Regions from separate parts of the Homo sapiens genome. Here regions 2, 3 and 4 are each linked to region 1. The links are contacts of gene promoters, found by promoter capture Hi-C in blood cells and fetal thymus (Javierre and others, 2016). All regions are on one chromosome and are shown on one strand. The core of a region is centred on a gene start or on the middle of the fragment in contact, and the rest is flanking DNA. Distances in the headings are between cores, read along the strand shown.

Region 1 (7,971 bases), core at 1,491-3,990:
TTCGGGAGTCCTCTTGCCTGAAAGTGGAGTAACAGCTTTACCAAGGAGGGAGCTGCAGAGCAATGATGTCATTCCGTGGTGCACTGGGGAGGGGAGAGAGGCTTCATATTCCAGTTTAGAAAATGGAGATTTGTATCTTCCCTTGTGAGATGTTGTATGCCCAACACACACATGTGTAATGTGTAATTCTGCTCTATACATTTTCCAGCTCTCCTATGGCTGGCGCCCATAATTTTAAGTGCCTCTGACTTTAAGAGCTGCCTAGTGGAAGTTTTTTTTTTTTTTTCTTTTGAGACAGAGTCTTGCTCTGTCGCCTGGGCTAGAGTGCAGTGGCACGATTATCAGCTCACTGCAGTCTCTGGCTCCCGAGTTCAAGCAATTCTCCTGCCTCAGCCTCCCGAGTAGCTGGGATTACAGGCGCACACCACTACACCTGGCTAATTTTTGTATTTTTAGTAGAGACGGGGTTTCACCATGTTGCCCAGGCTGGTCTGGAGCTCCTGACCTCAAGCAATCCACCCACCTAAGCCTCCCAAAGTGCTAGGATTACAGGAGTGAGCCACCATGCCCGGCCCCTAGTGGAAGGATTTCTAAAAGCACATCCACTTCCACTTTCCTCCACCCCTCCCACTCTACCTCACTGAAACCTAGAGGGGTTTTCCTTCTGCTGGGATGGCTCCCACTTGTTTATTAAAGGGAGAGTACAATATTCTCTAACATCCTTCTGAAATTGTTTCTGGGTCATCCTTACTGCCAATTCACCCATGCTGAATCCCATTCCAGGAAGTATTAAAACGATCACTCAGAAAATTATTATTTTTGTGTTATTTTGCATAAAGTTTATCTCTTACCTATGAAGGCAGAAGCCACTAAGCTACTCAGAGGCTTGTTTTAATAAATTAGAGAATGCCAGTATTGCGACTCTTAACCTGCTGAGTCCTTCTGGCAGAGCTCTGCTGGAGGACTCATCAGCTTCTTCAGCCTCGGGCAGCAGCAGAGCATAGTGAGATACAGTGAGGCTCTGGAATCAGACTACTGGACTCCAAACTCTTGCTGACTGTGTGATCGTGGATAAGTTAGGTGACTTCGCTGGCCTCTTCGTCCCTTTATAAAACAGGAATAATGCTTCCTAATGGGGATCAATGAAATCAGGCTTGGACCTGTGCCTGGCACACACTAAGCACTCAATAAATGTAGTTAATCCTGGTATTTTCTTATATTTTATTGGCCCTTCTGACTACAGCGGCACCTCAATGTAATCAGTAGCGACTCCTAAGTCCCTTTCTTGAGTCATGACTAACAACTAAGAATCATGAGACCCTCTTTTAAACTCAGGGGAGTCACTTAATCCCTGTAGGCTTCAGAGAGTTTCACCTGCGACAAGAGGAGTCTAACCTGATTTCTTGAGACCTCTTACTAGGAAGAAAATCTAAGTGAAAAGCCAGCAGCTTCTGTTCTGCCTACACAGATTCTCAAGGCATTTTTCCTACAGGTTACCGCTTGATGTTTCACTATCCAGCAGCAATTTTTCTCTTGAAAGATAATCTATCTTTGTCAGTTACCCATGAAGGGATTACTCCACCCCTCCACCTGAGTTCTGGCTTAAAGCCGTTTTTCCTTATTATAAAAAGCCGTTTATTATTAAAGCCGTTTTTCCTTATTATAAAATATGTGCTTAAGGTAGAAAATTTTAAAAATACAGATTAAGCATTAGGAAATAACCAAAATCTCACCATGCACTACTTAATATGTAGATGTATTTCTTTAGTTTTTCCTTTCAAAGTCTGGATCATTCTGTATATATAGTTCAGTTAGCTTCGCATCATGAGCACTCTTCCCGACCACTAAATATGCTTCAAAACCATAAGGGCTCCCATGAATATCCTTGTGCAAAGCTCTTTGGGTGCATCTGATTATTTTCTTAGGCTACATCTCTAGCAGCAGGATAGAGAGTCAAAGGGTAAGGGTGAGATTTGTTTGGTCATCTGCAAACAGAACCTGACTGCTATTTTAAAAGGTGTACCGATTTACACACCTGGTGCCTGGTCTAGCTGAAGCTAGGTTCAATTTATACTAACGTTTTTAGTATTTATTTTCAAATAATTTGGCGTCCTACCCAGGTAAATACTCAGTTTGACTTCACTTTGCACTGTCCCTTCGGGCTCGGTTTTGCAGGAGGACAGCACTTTGGGGCATGGCTTTAAAAAGTCGGCCAGTGCACAGGCGGAACAGCGGGGACACAGGAGCCACCACTTTACCGCGAGCCCAGCAGGGGGCGGAGGACTGCTGTCCACTCTTCACACAGTCAGGCCCTTCCCAAGGGCGCACCTCCAGGGAAACAGCTCCAGTCTAAATGTTAACGATCACCCCAACTCCCGCCGCACCCACTCCCCGCAGCCAGGCCTTCGGACCGAAGACCACACCCACTTCCGCCCTCGATGTCTCAGCACCTCCCCCTCCGCCCGAGTGCCTCACCTCGAGGACCACTTTGCGCATGCGCCCCAGCTCTTGGAGGTAAGCGGCTGTGTGCGGGTGGTCGCGGTGAGTGTGCAAGGCCGCGGTGGCCGCGTGACAAGCCTGCGCTACCAGTGCGCCCGCCGGCCAGGAGAACGGAGCTTGTGATAGATCCTTTCGTAACACCAAGTATTGTACCAGGACCTGCGGCTCCGCCCCAGAGGCCGCCATCTTCCTGACCACCCGAAAGGCCGGACCTACTCCCCGGTGCATCTTGGGATCAGGGCGGGGCCCTGAGCGCCGCCATGCTTTTGTACGGCAGGATCGCAAAGCACGCCGGGACCGGTTGGTTTGGTTTTGAAGACGTGGATGGCGGGAATTCTCGCTTCTGGCCTGGGTGAGCTAGAAGGGAGAAGGTAGGGGAAAGACCCATTGTCGGACCGGACCGTGGCCAGGGTGGCGGGCTGAACGGCCTTCTTAAAACTCCTTCCGTGGCCGGGAAGCCCGCTGGACCAGAGTAGCCGTGGCCTCGGGAGCGCGCCGGGGCCGCGGGATGGGCGCGGGGGTGGGCATGGACTCTGCTGGCTCGGACGATGGGAGAGGGCGGGCGGCTCAGGAAAGGGGATCCTAGCCGTGACATTTGTGTCATCCGCGGCCCAGGGGTTGTGCCTGAGTGGTGTGTGCCCTGCCGTCTGGGTTTGAATGGGACTAGATGTGATGTGACTGTTGCCATTTTTCTTTTATTAGCAAGGACATTGGAGTCCCTATCACCGGTTGCCTAGACAACTTCATGGGAAGGCCCTTGGGAATCTGAGATGGAGCAGGCGAACCCTTTACGTCCAGATGGCGAGTCCAAAGGAGGTATTCAGAGGGTCGCCGCCTCCTTCCTGCTGCTGCCCAAAGATGACCCGCAGGCTGAGAGAGCCCTTTCCTCCTGGAACTGACGTGGGACCTGGCCTGTTTGGGAGCAGAATAGTGAAAGGAACTAACATTGAAGACAAAGGGACAGGCAGCCAAGATTATTCGAGGAGGAAAAATGGCTTCGTTTCTAGGCTCCCACCCCTTTTGAAACGGATAAGTTGCATCCATCATATGCTCAGTGTTTATATTCTGAACTGCGGTTCTAGCCAGGGAGGTCCCTTTCCTCTCCCCGGATTTTTTGGGCCATGTATGCATTACTCTTGAGGGAGGGCCAGTGTAGGGCAGTGACTTTAGTGTTGGCTAGAACTGGTTTTGAGTGTTGGCTCTGCCATGATAAATATTGTGACCTTAGGCAAGTCACTTTATTCTCTGCCTCTGTTTCTTCATCTGGAAAATGGAGGTGAAAATAGCACTGTAGTTGTGGTTGTGGAAAAAGTATTTCTTTTGTGGTGGAAAAGTATTGAACTCAGACTTTTCAAGTGAAGCATTTAGCACATGTCTAATATATAGGAAATATTCAATGAAAGGCTTAATTCTTTACATACTTTGTGTCTTAAAATGTAGAAGGTGTTTAAAGAATGCTTGTTAGAGTTGCTTAGAATTACGAAACTATTACTTTTACTTAGTCCTTAGTCAATCCTTTGGAAACTGAGATTTGCGTTTGAATTTCTGTCCAGGAGTAAGTTGCTTTCTTCTTTAGTGCCTAGTAATATTTGTGGACAGTTCTGGTTTTGTGTGACTTTATGTTCTTTGCTACTAATACTTTTTAGAACTTTGAAATACTTACTCAAGCCTGATGCCTAAATCCAAAGGGTTCTACGTTAGTACTTTGGGAAAGCTTGCCATAAAACCTAACTTAAATTACAGTTTTAAAAAGAATTTCTGAGCGCGTCAGTGAATTTGGTTATCCTATTTTTCTCTGGGTCATCATTATCATTGATAACAGAGAAGTAACTATATTCAGCCTAAGATGACTTAAGCTGAGACTTTAGATAATAAAAGTATATGGGGTAAGATTTATTGTTACTTTAAGACTAAAAATAAGTTTGGTGACTTTATGTAGTGGAAACATGCTACACTCAGGAGTAACCTGTTCTCTAGTCCAGGCCTTATTTCATTTCTGTTAAAGTAAGTGATGAGGTGGAAGTTTTGGATTATCAAGAGACTTAGACCAGTCTCCTTATTCTCTACCCAAAACAATATTTAAACACTTAGCTGTTACCCATACTGGTTTTATCCCTCTGCTTGTTTGATTTCAGTTTTTTGCTTATTATTTGAATTCTCCCCACTCATTTGAGAAGGAAGGACATGGAGTTGTAGTTGCAACCAGATGATTTATTCAAATAGGCAGGGATTTTGACTTTTTTTGGGACAAAGCTGACTGGCTAGGATGAGATGCAATCATAACTTCCAAGGTAAAGCAGGCCCAGCAGATACACTCCCTCTTTTCTGTAGTAGCAACGCTAAACAACAACGCTACCCCCTTGGTGTAGAGGGAATCAGGTCGGTAAAGAAGCTGGGCAGGTTTGAGAGCCTGAGAAGAGGGCTGTGTGGAAGTGCCTAGAGAAGGAGCAGCATGATACTGTTTTGAACACCTACTTATCTCAGAAACTTTGGGAATATTGATATCTACTGTTTTAGTAATATAGAATTTCCATAAAGTAGAATTTGGTGAGGCGTCTCCTCTACCACCCTAAATTATTCTATGTGTGCGTGCTTTTCAGATCACCTCCTGGTTGGACATTAATTTTTGTAAGCTCCGTGAGGACAGGGACTTCGTTTTGCCACCACAGTATGAATAACTTCCAGCACGGTCCTTGGTCCATAGTAAATTCTCAATGCATAGTTGTTGGATAAATAGAGATTGGTGAATAAAGCAGTTAATCACGTGCTAATTATTAGGACTAATTTATTTAATTAGAATTTTGGTTTCTCACGATTATTATTGCGGTAATGTGGGTTTTTCTGTGGACATGAGCCAAGTGAATGTAATCTCCAAGAGTGTCATGCCTGGTTGTCCGTGTTTCGGTAAACATTTCCGGAGTGTTGGCCGGGCGCGGTGGCTCACACCTGTAATCCCAGCACTTTGGGAGGCCAAAGCGGGTGGATCACAAGGTCAGGAGTTCAAGACCAGTCTGGCTAACATAGTGAAACCCCATCTCTACTAAAAATACAAAAATTAGCCGGGCATCGTGGTGCATGCCTGTAGTCCCAGCTAATTGGGAGGCTGAAGCAGGAGAATTGCTTGAACCTGGGAGGTAGAGGTTGCAGTGAGCTGAGATCGCGCCACTGCACTCCAGCTTGGGCAACAGAGTGAGATTTCGTCTCAGAAAAAAATAACCATTTCCGGAGTGTTTACCATGTGTAAACACTTTGTGCTAGGGTTAAGGGATCCATGGGTGAACACAAATGCACACGGTCCCTGATTTTGGAACTTTAAGGTTCAGTGGAAAAGATAAGCAAATCAAATAATCACACTAATGAATATACAATTAAAACTATAGTGGCCGGGTGCGGTGGCTCACGCCTGTAATCCTAGCACTTTGGGAAGCCGAGGTGGGAGGATCGCTTGAGCTTAGGAGTTTGAGACCAGCCTGGGAAACATAGTGAGACCCCATCTCTTTATTTAAAAAACAAAAACAAAAAAACTATAGTATTGTCTCAGAAGGATCTTTGAGAGCTTATGAGCTGGCACCTGACCTTGTTCTGAAGGTGCTACAAAGGTTTCCCTGAGGAAATGCTGCTTGCATTGAGTGCTAACGAGCTAGAGTAGCTGCAGGTGAAGGTGGATAAGGGGCGGCTGTGGAAGAGCCTTTGGTGTGTGTGTTGGGGGTGGGGGGATCAGGTCAGTAAAGACGCTGGGCGGGTTTGAGAGCCTGAGAGGAGGCCTGTGTGGAAATGCCTAGAGAAGGAGCAGCATGATACTGATGAGGGTAAGAGAGATCCAGAGGCCAGTAGGCCTCGTAGGCAGTGTGAAGTCATCGAAAGGCTTTAGCCAGCTGGATGACACGATCCAGTTTAGATTTTGAAATATGGCTTCAGTGTATGGGCCACCTAGGAAACTTGTAATAGGCCAGAAATGGTAGTAGCTTGAACTACAATGGTGGCATTGCAGATGGGGAAAATGGAAATATTTTAGAGATACTAGGAATGTATATTCAATAGGATCTGGTAATGGATTGGGACTGGGTCAGGGAGAAGGTGTGAGGAAGAAAGTACTGGTTTACACAGCTATAGATGGATAATGGTTCCAGTCATGGAGGGGTTTAGAAGGGGAGATGATGAATTCAGTCTTGGACATGTTGATTGTCAGGTTCCTGTAAGTCTTCCAAGTAGATACACTGAGAAGGCAGGTGGATATTCTGCTTTCTCAAGAAGCAGGAGAGAGGTATAAGCTAGAGATACATATTTGTGTGGCATCGACATGTATGGCCATTAAGGCTGTGGGTACTGATGAGATTTCTTCTGGAAAGAAGAGGTCTTAGGACTGAGCTCTGGAAAATTTCAGCATTTAATGGTCAAGGAGGAGAGTAGGAGCCTTCAAAGCAGAAAGTGGGGTCAGAGAGGTAAAATGTAAGTGTCACAAAAACAGGTTGTCTGTTGTTCATCACTATGTTCCCAGTGCCTGAAATAGTACTTGGCACAAAATAGATGCTTAATAAACATCTGTTGAACAAGGCATACCAACAGGCCGCTATGCTAAGATTCAGAGGAAAAGAGGGTTTCGTGAAGGTGGTGATCAGTAGGAGCATATAGTGCTGGGAGGTGAGATAAGGGAGCTTGAAAAATGTCCTTTGGGTTCAGCAACATGGATATCACTGTTGATCTTAGAGTGGTTTTGTAAAATAATGGGAACAGAAGTGAGTTTCAAGTGGGTTGAGGTATGAGTCACAGGCAAGAAAATGGAGAAAGTGAGTACAAGTTGAGCACTGAAGATCCAAAATCTGAAATACTCCAAAATCTGAAGCTTTTTGAGCACTGACATGATGGTCAAAGGAAATGCTTATTTCCAGTTTTGGATTTTCAGATATGGGATGTTCAGCCAGTAAGTGTAATGCAAATACTCCCAATTCCGAAATCTGAAACACCTCTAGTCCCAAAACGTTCGGATACTCAACTTGCATGGACAACTCTTTTAAGTAGTTTTCCTGGAAAGGAAAGGGGAGAAAAGGGAGATAGTAGCTGAAGGGGATTTGTGGGCAAGAATAGGCCTGTGAGTGTATGAAATTGTGTGTGTGTGTATGTGTGTGTATATATATATATATATATGAGTGTGTGTTTGAAGACAGTTGAGACTTGAGCGTGTGTGGAAGGGAAATGAACACAGCAGAGAAAAGGGTAACTGATCATTTAGGGTTTCTGAGAAAGCAAGGGGATAGGCCTCAATGAGTAAAATAGGATAATTCTGCATATAGTGCGTGTCTGTTTCTATTTGATCTCACACAAATTTTTTTTTTTTGAGACGGAGTCTGTCACCTAGGCTGGAGTGCAGTGGCACGATCTTGGCTCACTGCAAGCTCCGCCTCCTGGGTTCACGCCATTCTTCTGCCTCAGCCTCCTGAGTAGCTGGGACTACAGGTGCCCGCCACCACACCC
Region 2 (7,971 bases), core at 1,757-4,256, 340 kb before region 1:
ATCATTAAAGTGGAAGTGGAAAGGCCTTGTGTTGTGAAATAAAACCATTTCTTCATTCCCATATTTAGTTTTTTTTCAAGTCCACACACATTTCTACTTCCCTATTTTGTGTAAACAATGGTGCTTCCTTTTTTTCCTTTAAGAGAGAAAATCCCTGTCACCCAGGCAGCCTCACCTTGAACTACTGGGCTCAAGCAATCCTCCTGCCTCATCTTCCCTAGTAACTGGGACTACAGGACAACACACCGTGCCTGGCTATTTTTTTTATTTTTAATTTTTAGAGATTGGGGGTCTCACCCTATTGCCCAGGCTGGTGCTTCTGATTGAAGTCCTCCAAAGGACTTTTATTGCGTTCAGATTGAAGTTTAAATTTCTCACAGTGGCCTACAAGGATCTACATGATCTGGCCCTTGCCTAGTCTTCATACTCAACTCTGTATCTTCCTTTCAATGGGTAGATTCGGGTATTCTTTTATTTCTAGACATTTTTATTAGGTAATTATAATTTTAAATATTCTGTTTTAATGTTTTGTTTTCAGTCTTTATAAACTCCAATTTTCCATATGTTGGATCTTCTCTGCTGATCTCTGATATACATTACTCTGAATCAATTTTAAATAAATGGTTATCACTTCAACTCAAGCATGTACTAAGTGCCAAGTATGCTAGAATATACCCTAGTCAGTGATTTTTTAAAAGGGATCACACATGGTTCATTTTGCTGACTATGAGCTGATAATTATGTAGAGGCAGTGTATATGGAGAAAACAGCTTGAGGCTGGGCATGGTGCCTCATGCCTGTAATCCCAGCACTTTGGGAGGGCAAGGTGAGCAGATTGTTTGAGCCCATGAGTTCAAGACCAGCTTAGGCAACATAACAAAGCCCTGTCTCTACCAAAAATACCAAAAAAGGAAATTAGCTGGGTGTGGTGGCATGCCTGTAGTCCCAGCTACTCGGGAGGCTGAGGCAGGAGGATCACTTGGGAGGCTGAGGCAGGAGGATCACTTGAGTCTATGAGGTCAAGGATGTAATGAACCAAGATTGTGCCACTGCAGTCAAGTTTGGGTGGCAGAATGAGATCTCATCTCAAAAAAAAAAAAAAAGAGAGAAAATAGCTTGATAAAAAAATGAAGGTGTCAATAATAGATGAATAACTACTAAAACAGGATAAAGGCATTAGATGATATAGAATCGAACTGTGTAGCCAAAAACAGTAAGAAAAGCTACCTATAAAATTCAGGTTTAATGGGCTCTATGGAAGAAATCTCATATTTTCCATTCATTTATTAATGCTCACATTGATCTTTATTTTAACACTTACTGACATTATATTTAGACTTCATATTTTCTTATCTTTATGCTACTTTGTGTGCTTTGAATGTTTATGTGCACCCCCCCATCCCAGAATTCATATTTTGAAACTAATACCCAATGTGAGGGTATTTAGAGATGGGGCCTTTGAGAGGTGATTAGGTCATGAGGGCAGAATGCTCCTGAATGGAATTAATGCCGTTATGAAAAAGGTTTCAGAGAGATCCCCACCCCTTCTGCCATGTGAGGTTACAATGACAAGATGGCCTTTCTATGAGAAAGTGGGTTCTCATCAGATGTAAAATCTGCTAGCACCTTGATCCTGGACTTTCAGCCTCCAGAATTGTGAGCAATAAATTTCTGTTATTTATAAGCCACTCAGTGTATAGTATTTTGTTATAGCTTCTTGAACAGGCTAAGACACTACTGTATAAATGTTCCCCTGGCAGATATTTGATGCTTTTTCTGTGTTCCTTCAGAATTTTGTACCAACTTCTATTATAGCACTGCCTACTTGGGCTGTAAGACAGTTTAGCTCAGTGGCCCAGAGTGGTGACTCTAAAGTCAGACAGATGTGACATAGATTCTTAGCTCTGCCACTTACTAGCTTTGTGACCTCAATCAAATTACCTGACCTATAAGCTTCATTTTCTTGATCTGTCAAATGAGGGTAAGAATAGATAGTCATAAATGCTAAATCAGACAATGCATGTAAAGTGCTTAGTACAGTGTCTGACACATAGTAAACTTCAATTCATCTTTTTTTTTTTAAGAGATGGGGTTTCATCACGTTGCGCAGGCTGGTCTCCAACTCCTGGGTTCAAGAAATCAACCCACCTCAGCCTCCCAAAGTGCTAGATTTACAGGCATGAGCCACTGTACCCAGCCAATTCATCTTTATAGGTGCTTGTCTGCCTTACTGTACTACAGTCTCCATGAAGATGTGGACCATGGTATGTTCTTTTTTTGTACTCAAGTACCTGACATGTAGTAAGTCCTAGTAAGTGTTTGTTGGGTGAATTTGCAGCTCTGTATAATAGTCCTTTTTCTTAACAAAAGGTCATATGCCATGTTGGTTCACTATCTAGGAGACTTTTAAACAGAGAACAGAGAGCCTAGCATGTGCTCATCTGGTAAGGTGTGCTTCAGGGTAAATAGTTATTGATACTTGTAACTCTTTTTAACCTATGATCTAGAAAACTCCATTAGTCTGGCTTTCCCCAAAGTTCTTGTGTCCATTAATTTTTCTGTCCACAAAGTTTTCTACCATCCCCACTGAAGACATGCCTGTGGTTTTCTGGGATGACTAATTATTTTATTTTAAATTCACCTCTAAATCTTTATTCCAGAGCATCCTGTATGCAGTTAAAGTTATTAATATTTTGCATTTGGCACCCCTGAGAAATATCAGCATTCAATTATGGACCACATTCTCCTCTTTTCTCTAGTTGCTCCAATGTTGCATTTCCCATGAAGTTTATTAAGAATTTAAGGAGGGAGGAAAACAACCCAGCTATCTTTCCCTTTGACTGATGGCACTAATTTAAATTTTCCCTTTAAAAGTAATGTGTGGTGATATGGTTTGGCTGTGTCCCCCGCCCAGATCTCATCTTGAATTCCCACGTGTTGTGGGAGGAACCTGGTGGGAGATAATTGAATCATGGGGGCAAGTCTTTTCCCTGCTGTTCCCAGGACAGTGAATAAGTCTCATGAGATCTGATGGTTTTAAAAATGGGAGTTTCCCTGTAGAAACTCTCTATTTGCCTGCTGCCATCCATGTAAGACGTTGACTTGCTCCTCCTTGCCTTCTGCCATAATTGTGAGGCATCCCCAGCCATGTAGAACTGTAAGTCCATTAAACCTCTTTCCTGTATAAATTACCCAGTCTCAGGTATGTCTTTATTAGCAGCTTGAAAACAGACTAATACATGTGAATATATTGGTATAGATATAGGTATTATTATGGCTATACTGGAGACATATATGTAGTTTTTTATATGGATGAAAAAGTCTGGAAAAATACATCTCAACAAGTTAACCGTGGTCATCACTGGGTGGTGATGTTATCGGTGTTTAGTTTTTCTTTCTACTTCTCAAAATAAGGCCTTGATGGGTTGGTTTCTTTTCTGCTTTCACTTTAGCTGTAATAATTCTCCGAGACTATTAACTGTTTTCAAAGTCTATTTTCCCATTCGTTTAGGTAATAGGACCCTTAACTTTTAGCTGAATACAAGATGACCAGAATAAAGACTACATTTTCCAGCCTCCCTTGAAACTAGCAAGAGCCGTGTGTCCCCCTTCTAGTTAATAGGATGCAATTAGAAATGTCACGTGCAATTTGGGGAAAGTGTCCTTGAATGGAAGATGCACTCTCCTTCCTTCCTTTTCTCCTTCTTGCTGATGAGGAGGCAGATTTAATGACTAGAAGTTGAGCAACCCTTTTGGACCAGAAGAATAAAAGTCACACCCTAGGGATGGCAAACTGAAAAGCTGGAAGAGGCCTGGGTTCATGACAATTCCGCAGACCTTGCCAAACTGGCCTTAGACTTCTCATCTCCAGATGTTTTACATGAGGGCAACATATACGTTTAAGGAATGATTAATTTGGGTTTTATGTTATAGACAAATCAAATCCTAACTGGTGTGAAATTAGTGTATAATTCATATTTTCCTTTGCTTCAGTAGTGAAGAATTTGTATTATATGCTCTTCCCCAGACACGCTTAACATAATTTCTGTAAGTGAACTGTCAAGCTTTAATTCTTATGCAGTTTTAAGATTGTTAAATCTTGCATATCTCTAGTTCAATGAAAACATTAGCATATGTTTACCAGAACACACATAAAAAAATGTTCATGGCACAATCCATTTGTAATAGCAACAATTTATTAAACCACTGATAAACATGGTTAAATAAATTGTGGTACAGTCCTGCTATTGAGTGTTACACAATGGTGAAAATGAATAGAGTATGATCTCAACATTATTGATCAACCTTAGCAATATAGTATTGAGCTAAAAGAACAAGTCCTAGAAGACAACATATAATACATTCAAAACAAATAAAACTAGTATACTGTTTAGGCCCACGCAAATGTGCAATGAAATTTAAAGAAGAGCAATGTATGATAAAAACAAAATTTAAAAGAATAGTTACTACTGAGAAGAATGTTGGGGTCTGGTATGGGATGGAACAGGTAGGTCGATGTATGTCATGGAGAGTTTTTGGCTTTTGGGTTGAGAGGTGGGGTTATGAGTGGTTTCTTGTATTATTATAACACATACAACGAAAATAAATGAAATGAGGTTTATTTAAAAACCAATGGGCCAGTCATAGCCCTTGATTCATGACACACTATTAATATGAATCAGAACTGTGATTAATCCAGTTTTGTGCTTCTGAAGTTCATAAAACAATCATACCACTTAGGAAGCTGCCTATTATGCAGGCCTGGTTTTATTTCTATAAATCAGGCAACAAGGATGGATGTGTTTCTATTTGTGTACCCAACTGTTTCCCTAACCAGGTTTTTAAAAATAAACTTTTAATTTTAGAATACTTTTAGATTTACAGAAAAGTTGCAAAGATAGGACAGAGTTCCTGTAACAACCCCCACCAACACCACTTCCCCTGCTGTTAACACCTTGCATTACTGTAGTACATTTGTTCCCACTAATGAACCAATGTTGATACATTATCATTACCCCTACCAGATTTCAGGCTTCCTGAGAGCACAGTCCATGCATTTTAGCATTCCCCATTTTGCATCTAGTCAGTATTCTGCATGTGTTGAATTGATGAGGAAATAAACTTTTTAAATGACCAAATTTTCTGCAATAAGAAGCTCCATATTTTATAATAATTTATAATTTGCTTTAAGTAGCTTTAGCTGCTTTGAGATAGAACCCTGAGCTAAGTTGGGTTTAATGTTCTTAAAAGTCATTGTTTCTGAATTATTTACCAACAGTCTCATTAGAATGAGCACGGGAAGCCAAATGCTGAACTGGGTATTTTTTTTTTCCTCCCTAAGTTTCTTTTCTAAATCAGGTCACGGAAAATGGATGCTATTTCTTTAAATAATATAACCAAGCTGATCCCTGGATTACAATTAGGTTACGTAACTTGCTTATGAGCTGCTTTTCATTAAAACTTGCAGTGGGCAATGGGGCTTTACGTTTCAGAGCAAAGCCGGGGAGAACAATCCTGCCGAAAGCCAGAACACATGCGGTGTCAGTGGCAGAGACTGCAAGAATTTCGGCACGAGATTGAGTTCAATGTAGGCGACTCCTTTTCTCTTTAAATCCTTAAAACATCCTTTGTCCTACCAAACTTGCTGGTTCCAAATACGTCTAAAACGTACATGCTGAGTGCCCACCCCATGAGGGAAGATCGCGTGGCCAGTCCCCAGAAGGCTGAGGAATGAGGAGCCCTCCAGGGAGAACATTATCAAGTTTCTGCAGAACCATAGCTCAGTTTTATTTCTTGCAGAACACACATTACTAGGAAACATTTTAAAGATGTGGACTAGGGAGGTAACAAAAACCTAGTTCCAGCCTATAACCATATATTTGCAAATAAGCATTTCATGGGTACGAAAATCAAAGTTTAGGGTGTCAGATCAGGTAGAAAACAAGAGGCATGGTGTCAAAACCCAAAGAAAAGAAGTCTGAAGAGAGTTGGGATGAGGGTTCATCAAAAAATACAAACATCTGTTCTGAAAAATGGAGAGAAAGCCAGCTTTCCCTAGAAAGGAAGTTGTTCGTTGCTGTTATACAGGATACTCACCACAGGATGAGAGACTTTTTTTTTTTTTTTTGAGACAGAGTCTTGCTCTTGTCACCCAGGCTGGAGTGGTGCAGTGCGCAATCTTGGCTCACTGCAACCTCTGCCTCCCGGGTTCAAGCCATTCTCCTGCCTCAGCCTCCTGAGTAGCTGGGATTACAGGCGTGCGCCACCACGCCTGGCTAATTTTTGTATTTTTAGTAGAGATGGGGTTTCACCATGTTGACCAGGCTGGTCTTGAACTCCTGACCTCATGATCCCCCCACCTCGGCCTCCCAAAGTGCTGGGATTACAGGTGTGAGCCACCAAACCTAGCCTTTTTTTTTTTTTGAGACAGAGTCTGCTCTTGTCGCCCAAGCTGGAGTGTAGTGGCATGATCTCAGCTCATTGCAACCTCTGCCTCCCGGTTCAAGTGACTCTCATGCCTCAGCCTCCTGAGTAGCTGGGATTATAGGTGCATACCACGCTGCCTGGCTAATTTTTGTATTTTTAGTAGAGATGGGGGGGGGGGTTTCACCATGTTGGCCAGGCTGGTCTTGTACCCCTGAACTCAAGTGATCCGTCTGCCTCAGCCTCCAAAGTGCTGGGATTACAGGTGTGAGCCACTGTGCCTGGCCAGGATGAGAGCATTTTTGATACTCATATTAAGACTGCCTCCTAGAAGATGATAACTGCTGGAAATAAAAGTTTTACAATTAGAGTAAGCAAAGTTATCAGAGAATGGGACAAAACACTCTTTTTTTTTTTTTTTGAGATGGAGTCTTGCTCTGTCGCCCAGGCTGGAGAGCAGTGGCACGATCTCGGCTCACTGCAAGCTCTGCCTCCCGGGTTCACGCCATTCTCCTGCCTCAGCCTCCCGAGTAGCTGGGACTACAGGTGCCCACCACCACGCCCGGCTAATTTTTTGTATTTTTAGCAGAGATGAGGTTTCACCATGTTAGCCAGGATGGTCTCAATCTCCTGACCTTGTGATCCGCCCGACTCGGACTCCCAAAATGCTGGGATTACAGGCTTGAGCTACTGCGCCCGGCCGACAAAACACTCTTGACAATAAATTAATGGGGGAGAGCTCTGCTGGAGATTGAAGCAGAACAGGACCATGAGAAGAAAGGACAGTTTAATGCCAAAATTCTACCAAATACAAAATTCTTTTTTGAAATGGAATGATTGCATAGCGATAAAAATAGCAATCAGGAACAATTAAATGAACTTGGAGCCCTTCATGTACTTGAAGAAACACCTGTAATTTACTATATGGGAACAGCCAAAAGGATAATTATTTAAGCAGCTAAATTAAGGCTTGTTTCTTAACTTTTGATAAATGTGATCTCTTACAAATTCTCAAAGTAGAGAAGGATATTTTATTATACAGCTGTCTAAAATATTGGTTAAAGAGAACTCTTTTGTTTTAACTTATAGTTAACTTTTTTAAAAAATTATGGTTAACTTTTAACTTTCAACTACCAATAGTTCATATTTATAGTTGACTTTTGTAAGTTTTTAAACTGAAAAATAAACTTTTAACTATCAATATGACCAATGTAAATGTGAACTATATGCTTGGATGCAAAGCAGTTCATTAATTCTAATGGTATTGCACATTAATCTTGGCTTCAACACAGTCCAAAACTTGCCTAAGCCCTGTTGGTTGCTGGGGAGTTTTTGATTCTTGTGTATGTGTCTAATTTACTAATGAACCTTGGTGTCATTTAGGGCTGAACCAAGAGCATCTGAACGGGTCTGGCCGATCCCAGGCAGCTGGGGAAGGACACCTCGGTGTACTGAGCAGAGCTGGAAGAACACCAGCGCTGGGATGAGTCAGATACTCTCAGAGTGTGTAGTGAGTCAGAATCAGTGCCCCCACTCCCCTAGCTGTAG
Region 3 (7,971 bases), core at 3,885-6,384, 320 kb before region 1:
CAGGGAGAGGGAAATGTTTTTCTAACTTTTTTGTTGTGAACCACAGTAAGAAATACATTTTACATCTTCACTCAGTACACATTGTGTGTGTGTGTGTGTGTGTGTGTGTGTGTGTGTGTGTAATTAAAACAACCAAAACATCTTTTTTAAAATAACAGTACATACTATTCTTTTTAAAAAATGCTGGTCATGACCATCCAAATTGATTTCATGACCTACAGTTTGAAAAACATTGCCCTGAGGTGATAGGTGATAGTGTCAGAATCTTGGGAGAGGGTAAGATTTTTAAGTTTATCAAAAAAGAAGCATTTTTCAAACAGTTGACCATGTCCTTAAGAGTGCAGACTTACTTTTCTTTTTATTTTCTTTAGGGCCTCTGCTATATTTCTTTCTTTTATTCCTGCTTACATGGACAATTGAGTGAGATTGCAAAACCAGGTTACTACAGCATGTGGAAATCTTAGATGATATACTACATGAAGTTGGTAAGTCGCAGGTACATGGTTCCATTGTTTTAACTTAAATTAATCTAACAACCTATTAAAAGCTTGTTTAATAAATAGTTTATCATGTGGTTTTTAGTTCTATCAGGTCAATTTTACCCCCCATTCTAAATGCAGGTCCAGTTCTTAGCTCACCTGGCTCACAGGGAAGCAAAGTCCTATTTTCCCTACATACTTGAGACTTCATCCTCCCATACAGGATCGGTCACATTCCACTCAGTCTCTTGAAATCCCAAGCAGTGATATTCTCTCGTCACCTCCACCCACCCGTGCATCAACATACCTTGCAACTGGCTTCTCTTGCTGGCCTTCTACTTAAACTGCTTTTAAAGTAAAGCCCTTTCTAAGAGTGACTTTCTAATCTTTTCTCCTAGATCCTGATCTCACAGCTCCTATATTCTGCTTCTTCCTACAGATCCATTTCCTGTCTATTGGCAGCTTCGTCTGCATTATCATTGTTTCTTGTCTCTTGAACTTTGGTTGGCAACTTGCAATCCTTTTGACTTCAGCCACCACTGCTTTGTTTTTTCCTCAGTCCTAAGTCCTGAGAGAGGGAAAGCAACTTGCTTAGCTCACATTTCGCACCAGATGGCCCCAGGCCGGGGGCCCCCTCTTTCTTCAGTCATTCATTTTTTGGTTACTTTTGGAGGGAGATGTGGTGTGGCATCTCCAGGGAACTTACTCAAGAAGAGGTAGTTGGGAGAGAAGGTAGAAAATGGGTTATCTCTAGCTGAACTTCAGGTTCAACGTCATCTTTATTTTGATCTACAGAGTCCTAGTAGATGACAATACAGGTCTATACACAAGTGATAAATTGTGCAATCAACCAATTCATCCATTTCACAAATGGGAGTGATTGTTTGCTTTATGAAGTGAACTCTTACTTTATATGAGGAACCATCATGGGATTCCTTCAAACAGCAAATTCTCTTTTCATATATACAAAATGATTTATTTTACAAAGGGTGATTACCTGTGGCTTTCTCTCAGGAAAAGGAAGTGAGGTGTCTTCCATCACAATCATATGCCTTACAGTTTTGATACAATACTCAGTCCAGTTCATTGATTTCCATTCTTAAGTACATAAAAATCTTTTTTCTCCCTGGTTTATTTATAGTTGCATCCCATGGACAAATATCCTTTACTCAACATCTCCTTTTACTTTCTTACATTTATCTTGGCTTTCTTTTCCTTTTTACTGTTTACTCCTACACCATTTCCCCTTCCCATTTTAGTCAAATTTGCTTTTGCTCTTTTTGTGCACTTCATAGGTGGACATCCAAGGACATTGATGAATGAAGCTCCAGTCAAGGGTCTGTAGTGTTAAGGCAGCCACATCCAGGCTCTCATAGCACAGAAATACCAGTAACGCTATTGCTCAGGTGTGCTGCGTATGCTTATTCTACTATGCAAGTGATTATATGCCTCAGTTCCACAGTTGACCTTATATCCCAAATCAGCTCAATAAATTAGAATACTTGGCCCCTTTTTTTTAACTTTTATTTTAGGTTCAGGGGACATGTGCAGGTTTGTTATATAGGTAAACTTGTGTTATGGGGGTTTGTTAAATAGATTATTTTGTCACCCAGGTACTAAGCCTAGTACACAATAGTTATTTTTTCTGATCCTCTCTCTTCCCACCCTCCACCCTCAAGTAGGCACAAGTGTCTGTTGTTTCCCTCTTTATGTCCATGTGTTCTCATCATTTAGCTCCCACTTCTGAGTAAGAACATCTGCTATTTGGTTTCCTGTTCCTGCATTAGTTTGCTAAGGACAATGGCTTCCAGCTCCATCCATGTTCCCACAAAGGACATGATCTTGTTCTTTTTTATGGCTGCATAGTATTCCATGGGACGTTCATACACTGTTAGTGAGAGTGTAGCTCAACTGTTGTGGAAAGCAGTGTGGCAATTCCTCAAAGAGCTAAAAGCAGAACTACCATTCAACCCAGCAATCCCATTACTGGGTATATACCCAAAGGAATACAAATTATTCTACCATAAAGACACATGCATGTGTATGTTCATTACAGCACTATTCACAATAGCAAAGACATGGAATCAACCTAAATGCCCATCAATGACAGATTAGACTTGGCCTCTTATGGAAACATATTTTGTTGTTGTTGTTGTTGTTGTATATAATGGCCCTGACTCATTAACTCCTTAAGTCATTCCCCACGTTAGCTAGTTTTCTGTTATCTTCACTTTGATGTTAAGCCAACATCTTAGCATATTTAAAATTGAATTTCTCATACTCTTAGTCACATTATATTCCCTTTCCAGCTTCCTTACTGATGATGATGATGATGAACATTACTGCCTTTCACTTGTCCAGCACATTGCAGCTTTCCTGCACATCATCTTATTTGTGCCTTACAAAACCACTATGTGGTGAGCAGAGACACTTTACAAATGAGAAGAGTGGGCTAAGAGGGGTTAAGTCACTTGTTCAAAGTGGTAGGGACAGGTCTTCTCACTCTCGGTCCTATGCCTTAAGCTCAGAGGCACTACCCTGCTTCTCAAGCTAATAACCTCATCATTCTTTCTGTTCCTTTTTCTCTTGCACGTCCCATGTCTAACTCATCAAAAACTTATCCTAATTTTTTCTTCTACAATGTCTCATACTTGCCATTATCAAAGCAGTTAAACAACTGCCTTCTTGGTTCAGGCCCTCATCTGCTCATTTGTGAGTCACTGCAAGCATCTCCTGTTTTCCACATTTCTGTTCTTTTCTGCTCTAATTCATCCAAAAGGCATTGGTTAGAATATTGTTTATTTTGCATATTTTCTCTCTTTCATATCTTCTTCCCTTTTTTTGGAATGAAGGGTCCACATAGCAGTTGTTGGGACAGCTAGTAATTACCTTAGTAATTCCCATGCCCCACTTGAATAGCAAATATCTGTGGATAATTGGAAAAATAATGTGTGAAGATGCTGCTCTCATGGTATCACTCCCTTGTGGCCCATATCAGTTTTCTATTTCCTGTTCTGGAAAATGCAATCCCTGCAGGCCCTATATCCAAGACTGTCTATTAACTGAATTTGCAGACCCTGCCCTAAGTACCAAGGTGATGTAGTATTTATGCCATCTGTCTCAAATTCAAGGGTGCTTGTAGCCAGGGGACTACCTTCAGGGGAATAAGTGATGTATAGCTATAAATTTTGGTGATGCCAGAAGTAGCCCAAATAATATGAAAAGAAGCAACATGTACTGTGTACCTTTTTGATGCCACCAACAACTCTGGTATTTTACCTACTTTATCTAATTGAATGCCAACATCAACCCTGCAAAGCAGAAAAGCACAGGGGTGGGGTGCAGGGAATCCCAGCTAGGCCGACAAACCTAGGTTCAGCCCAGAGTTCTGACAGATCTATAAATGTCTGGAAGTCTGTTGGGAGGGAATCTATTTGCTTCAAGAATCAAGGAAGTCCAGAGAAAGAGCTCATTCTAAGGACAATGGGGCAAATTTGGGTGAAAGTGGGAGGGATGTCATGAATATTGTAAGCTGCTTGTCGCTAACATTATATGCTGTCTCTGCTCTGGGGATTTCTGCCTTAGTCTAGTGAGATTGAATAAAAGAATAGAAGCAAACAAACAAAGCCACTGCAATTGAAAGCTATTAAGGCAAGATAGTATGACCTGGAGCACCCTTGCTGGGCAGCGTACGTGGCAGAGCCATGGGGCTCTGGAAGGAACCGAGAGCACGTAGTGATCTGGGAGCATGAAGGCATTGGGAACCTGTAGCCTCAGCCCAAGCCTTGACCATCTGGCCACTCCAGGGTGCCAGAGGCAGAAAACAGGGAAATGGAGACGCTATTGGCTGCTTGGACAAATATAGTGCTTTAAGAATACATTTTAAAAAAGAAGAAGAGGCCAGGTGTGGTGGCTCATGCCTGTAATCCCAGCACTTTGGGAGGCCGAGGCGGGTGGATCATGAGGTCAGGAGATCGAGAACCATCCTGGCTAACACGGTGAAACCCCATCTCTACTAAAAATACAAAAAAAATTAGCCGGGTGTGGTGGCGGGCGCCTGTAGTCCCAGCTACTCAGGAGGCTGAGGCAGGAGAATGGCATGAACCCAGGAGGCGGAGCTTGCAGTGAGCCGAGATCGCGCCACTGCACTCCAGCCTGGGCGACAGAGCGAGACTCCTTCTCAAAATAATGATAATAATAATAATAAAATTTAAAAATATATATATATGAGAGAACCACTCTCTCCATGTTACATCCCCTTCCTCACTCTCAGAGTAATTTGGGAGGAAATCAGAGACCTATTTCAGAAATATTAGTGAGGAAGCAGGACCAGGGAAATGATAACTATTAAAAAAATTTTTTTTTTAAATAATAGAGACAGGTTCTTGTTATGTTGCCCAGCCTGGTCTTGAACTTCTGGACTCAAGCAATCCTCCTGCCTCAGCCTCCCAAGTAGCTGGGACTACAGATGCAGGCCACCACGCCCAGTTAATTTTTAAATTTTCTGTGGTGATGGGGGTCTCATTATGATGCCCAGGCTGGTCTTGAACTCCTGGGCTCAAGCAATCCTTCTGCCTCAGTCTGCAAAATTCTGAGATTACAGGCATGAACCACTGAGCCCAGCCACTATTATTATTTTTGTCGGCATAATTTCAGCTACTACCTATTCTCACATCTGGCTAGTATGGCCTGGGAAGCAGATCACAAGTATATTTTCATCTCCGTTATACATGACAAATTGAGCCTTGAGAAATTTAAGTAACTTGTCTAAATTAATACAATTACGAAGTGGCAGAGCTCGGGTTAGGATTCTGGTCTTTTTTATTTCAATGCCCATGTTCTTCCCACTACATTATTTATTCAACAAACATTTATCGAATGCCCACTATGAGTCACTCACAAGAGGCAATAAGGAACAAAAAAGCCCCTGCCCACATGAACCTTACATCCAGTGGCAGAGACAGCTGTTCACCAAAATTTGTAGGCTCCTCTTCTTCCTGCACTCATAGCTAGACTACATTTCCCAGCTTCCCTTGCAGTTAGGTCTCTCGCCAGTCGAACATGAGTGGAAATGAGTGGCACTTCTATGCCTGGCCCGTAAGAACCTCCCTCCCATGTTTCTGTATACTGAAAGGACTAGTGCAACCTTGGAAGTCAACTGTGAAAATGGCAGAGCTGCCTCCACTGATGAGGAACACGTGACTTGGCCTGTTATATCATTAATAACTCAATTTATATTGTGGTTGAGACATAAATTTAGGAGAGTTTTTTTTTTTTTTTTGAGACGGAGTTTCGCTCTTGTTGCCCAGGCTGGAGTGCGATGGTGTGATCTTGGCGCACTGCAACCTCTGCCTCCCAGGTTCAAGGGATTCTCCCGCCTCAGCCTCCCTAGTAGCTGGGTTTACAGGCACGCTCCACCACGCCCAGCTAATTTTGTATTTTTAGTAGTGACGGGGTTTCTCCATGTTGGTCAGGCTGGTCTCAAACTCCAGACCTCAGGTGATCTGCCCGCCTCAGCCTCCCAAATTGCTGGGATTACAGGCATGAGCCACTGCGCCTGGCCAGGAGTTTATTTTTTATAGCATTAGGTACATCTTAATGAAAACATACTCCTAAAATAGATCAGTATACCAAAAAGACACATGTGCTTGTATGTACATTGCCACATTTCATACATAGTAAAGGCATGGGATCAACCTAGGGGCCCATCAATGGTGGGTTGGATAAAAAAAATATATATGGTAGAGATACATGATGGAATACTATGCAGCCATAAAAAAGAATGAGATCATGTCCTTTGCAGCAGCATAGATGGAGCTGGTGGCCATAATCTAAGCAAATTAATGCAAGAACAGAAAACCAAATACTGCATGTTCTCACTTACAAGTGGGAGCTAAACATTGAGCTCCCACAGACATAAACATGGGAGCAATAGACACTGCAGGCTACTAAAGGGGGAGGGGAGGCGGTGGGGCATGGATTGAAAAACTACCCATTGGGTACTATGCTCCTATCTGGGTTCCATATACCCACGTAACAAACCTGTACATGTACCCCCTCGTATCTAAAATAAAAGCTGAAATAAAAAAAATACTCCTACATGAATACCTGCCTAGAGTGATTTTCATTTTACCAGAAGAATTATAGATAAAGTTTCTTCCTTTTTAAACTAAACTACTCCCTTGAAAATCTAGTGGTGTTGGATGTCAAACAATCATCTGCTGACCCAAAGGGGCTCCTGCCAGCTGCATGGGCACCATGAAGGACTCATGTGAGAAGGCCCGCCTTGATCCAGCATGGCGTATGTGACTGAGGGGGTAATTCCATCTATGTCTGGTTTTGTCTTAACCATCCCACTTTGCAAAAACACTTGATGCCACACTCTGCAACTTGGCCTCTAATCGATTATAATAAAGGTGACATTTAACCTCTCTCTGCCACTCTTTTGCATTATTTTTCCATTTGTTCAGAACTCAGGTTGGGAAGATGGTTGTTACTTATTGGGCCCCCACAGAGACCTCAAAAAGTTATCATAATTTTTGGATAAATCAGTAGTCAAGGATTGTATTATAATTGTGTAAATAATTGTCACTGTTGAACCAAGTAGTATATTGTGATTATGTCTTGTTTCTAGTTTGATTTTTTTCTTGAAGTTAATGAATGCCATGTTTTTTGTTCTTAATTTATTTTTAGTTTTGTATGGACCTATACTATTTTTCCAACTACTATAATTGCTCTGTCTAAAATTTTTCAAGCAGTACACTAAGAGCACTAAGCCTAAAGGAAAAGCCAGGCAGGGTGTGGTGGCTCACACCTGTAATCACAGAACATTGGGAGGCTTAGGTGGGAGGATTGTTTGAGCCCAGCCTGGGCAACATAGTGAGTAGTGAGATCCCCATCTCTACAAAAAAATTCTAAAATTAGCTGGATGTGGTGGTGCATGACTATAGTCCCAGCTACTTGGAAGGCTGAAGCAGGAGGATAGCTTGAGCCAAGATGTTCAAGGCTGCAGGGAGCTATGATTATGTCACTGTATTATGTCACTGTACTCCAGCCTGGGCAACAGAGAAAGGCCATGCCAAAAAAAAAAAAAAAAAAGAAGAAGAAGAAAAGAAAAGCCAACAAAACTAAAAAACATTAATTTTAAGAACTTAAGATCATCAAATGATAAGATTAAGAGAGTAAAAAGGAAAACCACATAATGAGAGAAGACATATGTAATATATATATCCCAAGAAGGATTTTTGTCCAGAATATATAAAGAACCCCTACAGATCAATAAGAAAAAGAGACAATACAATCAGAAGGTGGGCAAAAGATTTTGACGGGCACCTCAAAAAAGAGCATTTCAAATGGCCCTTAAACATATGAAAAGATACTCCACTTCATGAGTCATCTGAGGAATCTAAATTAACATCACAATAAGATATTGCACACCTACCAGACTGGTTAAAATAAAGAATTGTCAAGGATGTGGAACAACTGGAATTTG
Region 4 (7,971 bases), core at 3,186-5,685, 280 kb before region 1:
GCCTCAGCCTTTTCATCGTTAAATAGGGATGATAGTACCTGTCTCCACAAGGTGGTTGTGAGAATTTTGTGAGTTTACACATACAAAATGCTGAGGTCATGCCAGGTCCAGAACATATACAGTGAAGGTGAGCTGCTGGGTTTTTTTTTTTTTTTTTTTTAATGTTTAAAATAAATAGTACATACTTATGGGGTGCCTATGATATTTTGATACATGCATACAATGTATAATTATCAAATCAGGATATTTAGGATATCCATTACCTCAAACATTTATCATTTCTTTGTGTTGGAAACATTTCAGATCTATTGTTTTTTATCATCTTCATCATCATCATTAGAATCTATGGTAGTAATTTTTTCTCCACGTCTCGGTACCAGGAAAAGCTGTTTCCTTTGACCAGCTGGTTCACTTGTATTACGTGGTCATCATGACTTGTAACTGATTGTTATTTCTCTCTTAGGAAGGGAACTCAAAGTCAAATGTGTGTTCCTTCTCTTATAACTGTATAGGACCTTGTAGCATATGGTTTGTGTGGTAAACTTACCTCTGACTTTATCTTATTTTCCTTTTCATTTTCTCTATGCCCAATTTCTTCTTTCTTTTTAATTCTAATACACCCTGTGAACGGTCTCAAATCCTTTTTGAAGTAATATGGAAACAAACAAGTAATTTCATTATAGCATGTGCTCATATTGAAATTTCAGATTAATTTTCATTTAATTTACCTTAAGCTAGCTACTTCCTCATGACAAGGAGGAGCTATAATTTTTATTAAGATATCTCAAATCATATCATAGTTGGGTTACTTCTGGGAAGGTTCCATTTGACAGCTAATCCTATTGATGGTGTTAGCTTTCTTTTAAGCTTTAATTAAAAAGAAAATTGTGAAAATTTCATTTCATAGTTATGACTTTTATTCTCATTTTTTTCTTTGACTTTTGCTCCAGCCATCTCTCGTGGATTTGGGAAGGAAAAGGGGGGCTTATTTAAAAAACTTGTGAACCTATAGTCTTAAGAATAGTCTTCAGAATAAGACTTTTATATTAGGTTATAGCATAGGCAGAGTAAAGTCTATATATGTTGTTGTTGCCTTTCTTTTACAAACCAGAACATTCATTAATTTATTTGCAATGACAAAAAAAAAGGAATGTCCCAAAGTCTAGAATATTCCTGAATATTCTGGTTATGTCATTAGCATAATCACTTCCCCAAGCAGATGTACATGGGGCTGATACTGTCTTTTTTGGGGGGAGAATTCAAAAAAATTTTAATGAATGAAATGTCTCAAGTCTTTTTTAAAATTTGTAGATTCCCTCTTCCCCCCATCCCCTTTTTTTTCTTTGTAATTTATCTTTTGAAGAACCTGTGTGGTTGTCCTGTAGAATTTCCTACAGTCTGGATTGCAGTTTGGTTAAACATGTTGCTCTGCCCTCTCTATATCCTGTAAATTGACAGTTTGATGTAGAAGCTTGATTAAGATGTTATTTTTTTGGTGGGGGGAGGACAAGACAACTTTATAGATAGTATTGTGAGACACACAAAATCTCTGGTTATCTTTTGTGATGTTAGCAGTTGTTGGTATCACTATTGGCTTTTGCTTCTTAAAATCCTAAAGTGATCACCATGTTGTCTAGAAGAAAATGGGGAGGCATTGTCTGGAAATGATAGAGTCTGCTTTGTACAAATAGGACTCCTGGTGTGACCACTTGAGAATGAAGCAATATTGTGTGGAATCAAGAAGATCTAGGTATCAGTCTTGGCTCCTCTGTGTAGGAGCTGTTTGATCTTGCGTAATCAACAAAATCAGCAACAATGACAGCAGCAGCTACATTCACTTAGTGCTTGTTTTGTACCAGATTATGTGCTAAGTGCTTTATATACATTGTGTAATCTAATCTTTATAACAATCCTGTAAGCCAGACATTATCATATTTATTTTTGCAGTTCAGAAATATTAAAGTGTCCAAGGCCACATTGCTAAGAAATAGTGAAACAGGGAGTTCAAGCCCTTGCTTGACTCCAGTCTTGTGCTCATAATCACTTTGTTCTTCTATATCTGTAAAAGTGGGTATACAAATAGCTGCCTTATCTACTTTGGGGGTCAATTAGATGTTGTTTGTGAAAATGCCTTGAAAAATAAGATAGATATTAAAGTGAGAAGTACGCTGGGATGACCATTCATGAGGAAAGGTGGATGGTGGAGGCTTTGCCTATAACTAAGTGACAGTGAAAAGTTTGGATGGAAAGAACCCTGTGGTCATTTTCTGACTTTCATTTCTATTACTATTGCTGTTGAAATGTGGAAGTGTTTTCTTCTCTTGTTAAAATTGAGAGTGATAGAGATTTTACAGGTGGTAAATGTTGCATGTCAGAGGTTGCTTGAGAGTCCCTGGGTGAACAATGATGTCTTGGTTTTACTCCATTTGCCATATATGTAGGCTTAGTACAGATGGGTTTAACAGAGAGAAAGAGTATAGTCACAGTTCAGATTCTTTTTTCTAAAAGGACAAATATTTGTTAAAAGTAGGAGAAATTATAATTGAATGTATAATATTTTATCTCTTTAGCTGGGTAGTGGGTATATAATGTATATTAAAATTATTTTCAGTACCTCTTTATTTGTCTGAACTATTTTATAATGAATAAAACTATTAAAGTACTTACCACTAATATTTGCATGTGTGACAGACTAAGAAAGAAATAGGAGTGAGGTTGGTACCTTTAGGTCTGCCTGCCTGGGGCAGAGTGTAGGACTGTGCACTTTTTTTGAGACGGAGTTTCACTCTTGTCACCCAGGCTGGAGTGCAATGGCATGATCTTGGCTCACTGCAACCTACGCCACCCGGGTTCAAGTGATTCTCCTGCCTCAGCCTCCCCAGTAGCTGGGATTACAGGCATCTGCCACCACACCCAGTTAAGTTTTTGTAATTTTAGTAGAGATGGGGTTTCACCATGTTGGCCAGGCAGATCTCAAACTCCTGACTTTAAGTGATCCGCCTTGGCCTCCCAAAGTGCTGGGATTACAGGTGTGAGCCACCACGCCCGGCTGCACTTTTTTTCTTAAAGGAGACGGGGTCTTGCTCTGTTGCCCAGATGGGAGTGAAGTGGCATGATCATAGCTGACTGCAGCCTCAAACTCCTGGGCTCAAGTGACCCATCTTGGCCTCCCAAGTAACTGGGACTACAGGCATGCACTACCTGGCCTAGCTAATTTTTAAATTTTTTGTTAAGATGGGTTCTCCCTGTGTTGCCCAGGCTGGTTTTGAACTCCTGGCTTCAAGTGATCCTCCTGCCTCAGCCTCTTCGTAATCCCAGACTGTTGGGATTACAGGCGTGAGCCACTGTCTCTGGTAGTGCACTATATTTTCGGTAAACTTTGGTAATGCGTTTATCAGAAAGCCTTAGGGCTTGACCTGGACACATTTTCTTGGTACTTTGCTTCTTGCAGTTCTTTTTGTACTCTGGGGACTTTATTGCCATATTCTCTTTACTGTGGTGAAATATCTAGTATTTCATTCTGGTATTCCCAACAAAGTTTTCCCATTTTCTTGAGATATAAATCATATTCCATAAGTCACCCTGTTAAAGTGTACAATTTGGCAGCTTTTAGTATATTCACAAAGTTGTACAACCATCACCATTGTGTAATATCAAACTTTTGTTTCCTCAGAAAGAAATTCCGTGCCTGTTAGCAGTGTCTCCCCATTCCTCCCTTCCTCAGCCACAGGCACCCACTAATCTATTTGCTGTCTCTATGGATTTGCCTATTTTGTACATTTCATGTAAGTGAAATCATACAATATTTCACCTTTTGTCTGACTTCTTTCACTTAGTGTAATGTTTTTGAGGTTCATCCATGTTGTAGCATGTATCAGTACTTGATTCCTTTTTATGGCCAAATAATGTCCCACTGTAATCCATTTTGACTACTATGAATAATGCTTCTCTGAACTTTCATGTACAAGTTTTTGCATGGACATATGTTTTCATTTGTCTTGAGTATATGAATTGCGGGGTCATATGATAATTGTGTTTAACATTGTGAGAACGGCAAAACTGTTTTACAAAGTGGCTGCACCATTTTACATTCCCAGCAGCAGTGTATGAGGGTTCTGATTTCTCCACATTCTCCAGTGAAGTGGCATCTCACTATAATTGTTGATTTGCATTTCCCTAATGACTATGTTGAATAGTTTTGCATATGCTTTTTGGCCATTTGTACATTTTCCTTGAAGAAATGTCTCTTCAGATCTTTTGCTTATTTTAAAATTGTGTTGTCTTTTGTACTGAATTGTAAGAATTCTTTATATATTCTGGATGCAAGTCCTTTATCAGATATATGATTTGCAAATATATTCTCCCATCCTGTAGTTTGTCTTTTTACTTTCTTGGTGGTTATTCTTTGAGGGACAAACATTTCTAATTTTGATAAGTCCAATTTATTGATTTTGTTCCTTCTTATGCTTTTGGTGCCATATTGAAGAAACCATTGTCTAATCCAAGGTCACAAAAATTTATGTCTTTTTTTTCTAAGAGTTTTAGTGCTTACATTTAGGTCTGATATATTTTTAGTTAATTTTTCTATATGGTATGAGTTAGATCCCAATTTTTTTTTACAGTGGGGACAAAAGCTCATTATATTCCAAATACATACATCAGTAGCACTTTCAGTTTCCACCTTGCTTGATAATATTTTAATCACTATATGATTCTGCCACTTCATTTGTTTCACCCTCGACTCCCTGCTAAGTATTTGCTGTACCGAAACTGTACTAACTTTTGCACTTATCGTAGAATGTGAAAGTTAGGAGGATGTTTATTGATTATGCAGTTGAATCTCTTAGAGTAGAGCCCTCTGCATCTGTGACAGAAGAGCTTTCAACTGTTTGAACAGTTTTAGAGGTGGTTAGTTCACTGAAGTGTGTTGTACTATAATACAATAGTTATATTAAGAAGTCTTACCTATTCAAACATCATTTTATAAATAAAAAAAGTTTCAGAAGGAACAGGGGTTTAGGAGCTCAATAGGTTTAATAAGTTATTTTGCTTTTAGCAGTTTAAATTAAAGAGAGTTGGTGATTGGATCAAAACCCACAGTGTTTTATAATTAAATGAGAGCATTATATCCACCGGTGCAGTAGGAGAAATGCTTGTATTCCTAAAGCAATTCAGTTCAGTTTTTAAAAGCTCTAATGGCTAGAAAGTTTATTCTTTTTTTCAGTTGGAATGTTGCCCTTGGTAATGACTACCCATTTTATCAAGGTCCTCTTAAAACTCAGAGTCTAAAATTAAACTTCACTTATGTGCAGAGTGGTGCAGCGTGGTACAGAGTGTAATTGACTGATAGTTTTTTTGTTTTTCCTTTTCATATAACCCAGAATTAAGCTGTTAATGGAAGCCATGCTATCTTTGGGGCTCATCTTGAGTTTGTTATCAGTGAAACCCCTCTCTAACAAGAGTTTCTAAGTGCATCTCCTGTTCCTTTGAAACACTACAGTTGTGAAATGTGCTTTGCACCTATAGATCTGGACTCATCTCTGACTGCTTGGCTGCGTAACCTTAGCCAAAACACCGTTTCTTTGATCTCAACTCGCTTTTCTGTTGAATGGAGTTAATTCCTCCATTTTTGCAGTATTGGATGATTAAATGAAATGATTTGTGTGTGTGGGTGCATATGGCTCTACCACACACAGATGAAAGTAAGGCTTGCGAAAACAGCCTTCTGTCACAAGTACTTCTTTGCTGGCCTTACTTAGTCAGATATTAGCTATTTGTTAGCATCCGTCCAGTTCAGATGTCTTGATATCCTGAATTGATAGGAAATATTTCAAACATGCAGAAAAGAATAGTGGAAAAATCATTCCGTGCACCTTCTGCCCAACTTAGATCTTAACATTTTGCCTTATTTCAGATTTTTTAAAAAAGAAGTAAAACATTGTGGAGTTCAGCCTTCTCTGTACCCTCTTTCTTTTACCCCTTCCACATTCCCCAGAGGAAACATTGTTCTGAATATATTTGTTATCTATATATAATGTAATTGTTTTGCATGTTTTAAACCTCAGATACATACTATACTGCAATATGCTCTTGCAGTACCCTTTTTTTTTCTCATCCTTTTTTTCCTGCAATTTCTATTTCATGGCTACATCACAATTTACTTACTCACGCTCCTCTGGGTGGTTATTAGGTAATTTCCATGTTTTATTATTAGACAATGCTGTAGTCAACATTCCTGAACATACTGGTTGTGAACATATGTGCATTTCTATAGAGAGCTTGTAAGGAAAATGTGTGTGTGTGTGTGCGTGCACACGTGTACATATGTGCTTGCGTATAGGATTGGAATCTGGTTGAAAAGTATATGCATCTTCAACTTTGGAGAATAATTTGACATTATTTAATAAAATATACCAATTTAAACATTACTGTCAGAGTGTGAGAGTTTTACATTCCTCAAACATTTCTAGTGTTTCATTTCTTAGCATTATCTAAAATGGGATTCATAAGGTTCTAGATGGTTAGCAGCTGTTAGGGTCAGCAATTTCTCCGGCCAACTGTAGGAGGACTTGGTATGTGTAGAAAACATTTATTCTAGCAAATGAACAGGCTTCTGATACTGTGTGGCTCAGGATCTATGACTAACTTATTCTGGTATAAAGCCACCCAGAATTCATTTGACCAGTTTACTTAAAAACTAGCAAATTTTTAGGCCAGGTGCGGTGGCTCATGCCTGTAATCTCAGCACTTTGGGAGGCCGAGGCAGGCGGATCACGAGGTCAGGAGATCGAGACCATCCTGGCTAACACTGTGAAACCCTGTCTCTACTAAAAATACAAAAAATTAGCCGGGTGTGGTGGCACACACCTGTAGTCCCAGCTACTCGGGAGGCTGAGGTGGGAGAATCTTGAACCCGGGAGGTGGAGGTTGCAGTGAGCTGAGATCACGCCACTGCACTCCAGCCTGGGCAACAGAGTGAGACTCTGTCTCAAAAAAAAAAAAAAAAAAAAAGGAAAAAAACAAAAAGAAAAAAAGAAAAATAGCAAAATTTTTTTATCTCTGAGTCACATAAGCATTGGTAATAGTCTTCATTACCTATATATTACTCGATTAAGCTCTATGTGAGCAAGTAAAGTGAGTATCTGGCAATTGTGACTTAAAATAAATATTATTAAGAGATTAATAAAATAAGCATAGGATAATCTGTAATAAAATGTGAATATAGGACCAGGTGTGGTAGCTCACAACCGTAATCTTAGCACTTTGGGAGACTGAGGCAGGCGGACCACTTGAGCCCAGGGGTTTGAGACCAGCCTGGGCAACATGGGGAAACTCCATATCTACAAAAATACGAAAACTAGCCGATTGTGTTGGTGTGCCTCTGAGGTGGGAGGATCGCTTAAGCTTGGGAGGTCGAGACTGCAGTGAGTGGTGATTGTGCCACTGTGCTCCAGCCTGGGTGACAGGGCAGAGTGTCTCAAAAAAAACAAGAAAAAAAAGTAAACGTATAAATAGATAAATTTATATGGCTTAAGATTTTGATGTTAAAGACATCTAGGATAATTTAATGCAAAGTAAATATTAAGTGTAGTATAATGAATGTTAGGTGAATATGCAGAATTAATAAAGTTACATTAGTTATCCATAGCTTAAAGACAGAGATGGTACGGATTCATTGGATTAAGAAGCAAGTGTGTGAGCCAGAAGAGTGCTTATCAATCTGTGACCTTTGCTTGGACTCCAGGCATTGGAATAAGTTACCAAAGTTGTTTAATCTAATTTAGCATTGAGAAAGAACTTATCTAAAAAAGATTATTTTTGTTTTCAAAAATTTTTTGTTAAAAACATGTTTTGTATGGCGTTCCTAAATTACTAAAGGTGCATTTAGGAACAACTTATTTTGGGGTCATTTATTTTGGCACCCTTTTATTTATTTTCATTTTTATTATTTTTTTGAGACAGGGTCTGGGT

What was found. Contacts are between HindIII fragments. The CHiCAGO score rates a contact against its expected background, and 5 or more counts as called.
Region 2: a contact is called between a fragment that was not itself captured here and the fragment with the promoter of PTRHD1 in region 1, in 8 of 17 cell types (neutrophils, megakaryocytes, erythroblasts and 5 more). The highest score is 14.0, in neutrophils.
Region 3: a fragment that was not itself captured here is called in contact with the fragment with the promoter of PTRHD1 in region 1 in 1 of 17 cell types (neutrophils); the score reaches 6.6 in neutrophils.
Region 4: a fragment that was not itself captured here is called in contact with the fragment with the promoter of PTRHD1 in region 1 in 1 of 17 cell types (neutrophils); the score reaches 5.7 in neutrophils.

The regions. Positions count from the first base shown.
Region 1 is chr2:24,790,651-24,798,621 of GRCh38, forward strand. PTRHD1 (peptidyl-tRNA hydrolase domain containing 1) reads right to left here and starts at 2,741. Exons shown (of 2, transcript NM_001013663.2): 1 at 2,476-2,741. The coding sequence starts at 2,727. It overlaps CENPO (centromere protein O), which reads left to right and starts at 2,775. Exons shown (of 8, transcript NM_001322101.2): 1 at 2,775-2,851; 2 at 3,202-3,315. The coding sequence starts at 3,270. It overlaps LOC105369164 (a long non-coding RNA gene), which reads right to left and starts at 2,425. Exons shown (of 3, transcript XR_939843.4): 1 at 2,117-2,425; 2 at 1,734-1,934; 3 at 1-1,129. RefSeq lists a silencer at 561-640 and an enhancer at 2,402-2,831. The HindIII fragment of the contact is 6,911 bases long and covers 1-4,211 here.
Region 2 is chr2:24,448,915-24,456,885 of GRCh38, forward strand. All of the region lies in intron 2 of LOC105374329 (a long non-coding RNA gene), which reads left to right. Among named protein-coding and RNA genes, the nearest start is that of NCOA1, 38 kb to the right of the region's middle. The HindIII fragment of the contact is 2,111 bases long and covers 1,952-4,062 here.
Region 3 is chr2:24,466,340-24,474,310 of GRCh38, forward strand. No RefSeq gene overlaps it. Among named protein-coding and RNA genes, the nearest start is that of NCOA1, 21 kb to the right of the region's middle. The HindIII fragment of the contact is 9,179 bases long and covers 546-7,971 here.
Region 4 is chr2:24,507,296-24,515,266 of GRCh38, forward strand. All of the region lies in intron 1 of NCOA1 (nuclear receptor coactivator 1), which reads left to right. Among named protein-coding and RNA genes, the nearest start is that of NCOA1, 20 kb to the left of the region's middle. The HindIII fragment of the contact is 5,933 bases long and covers 1,470-7,402 here.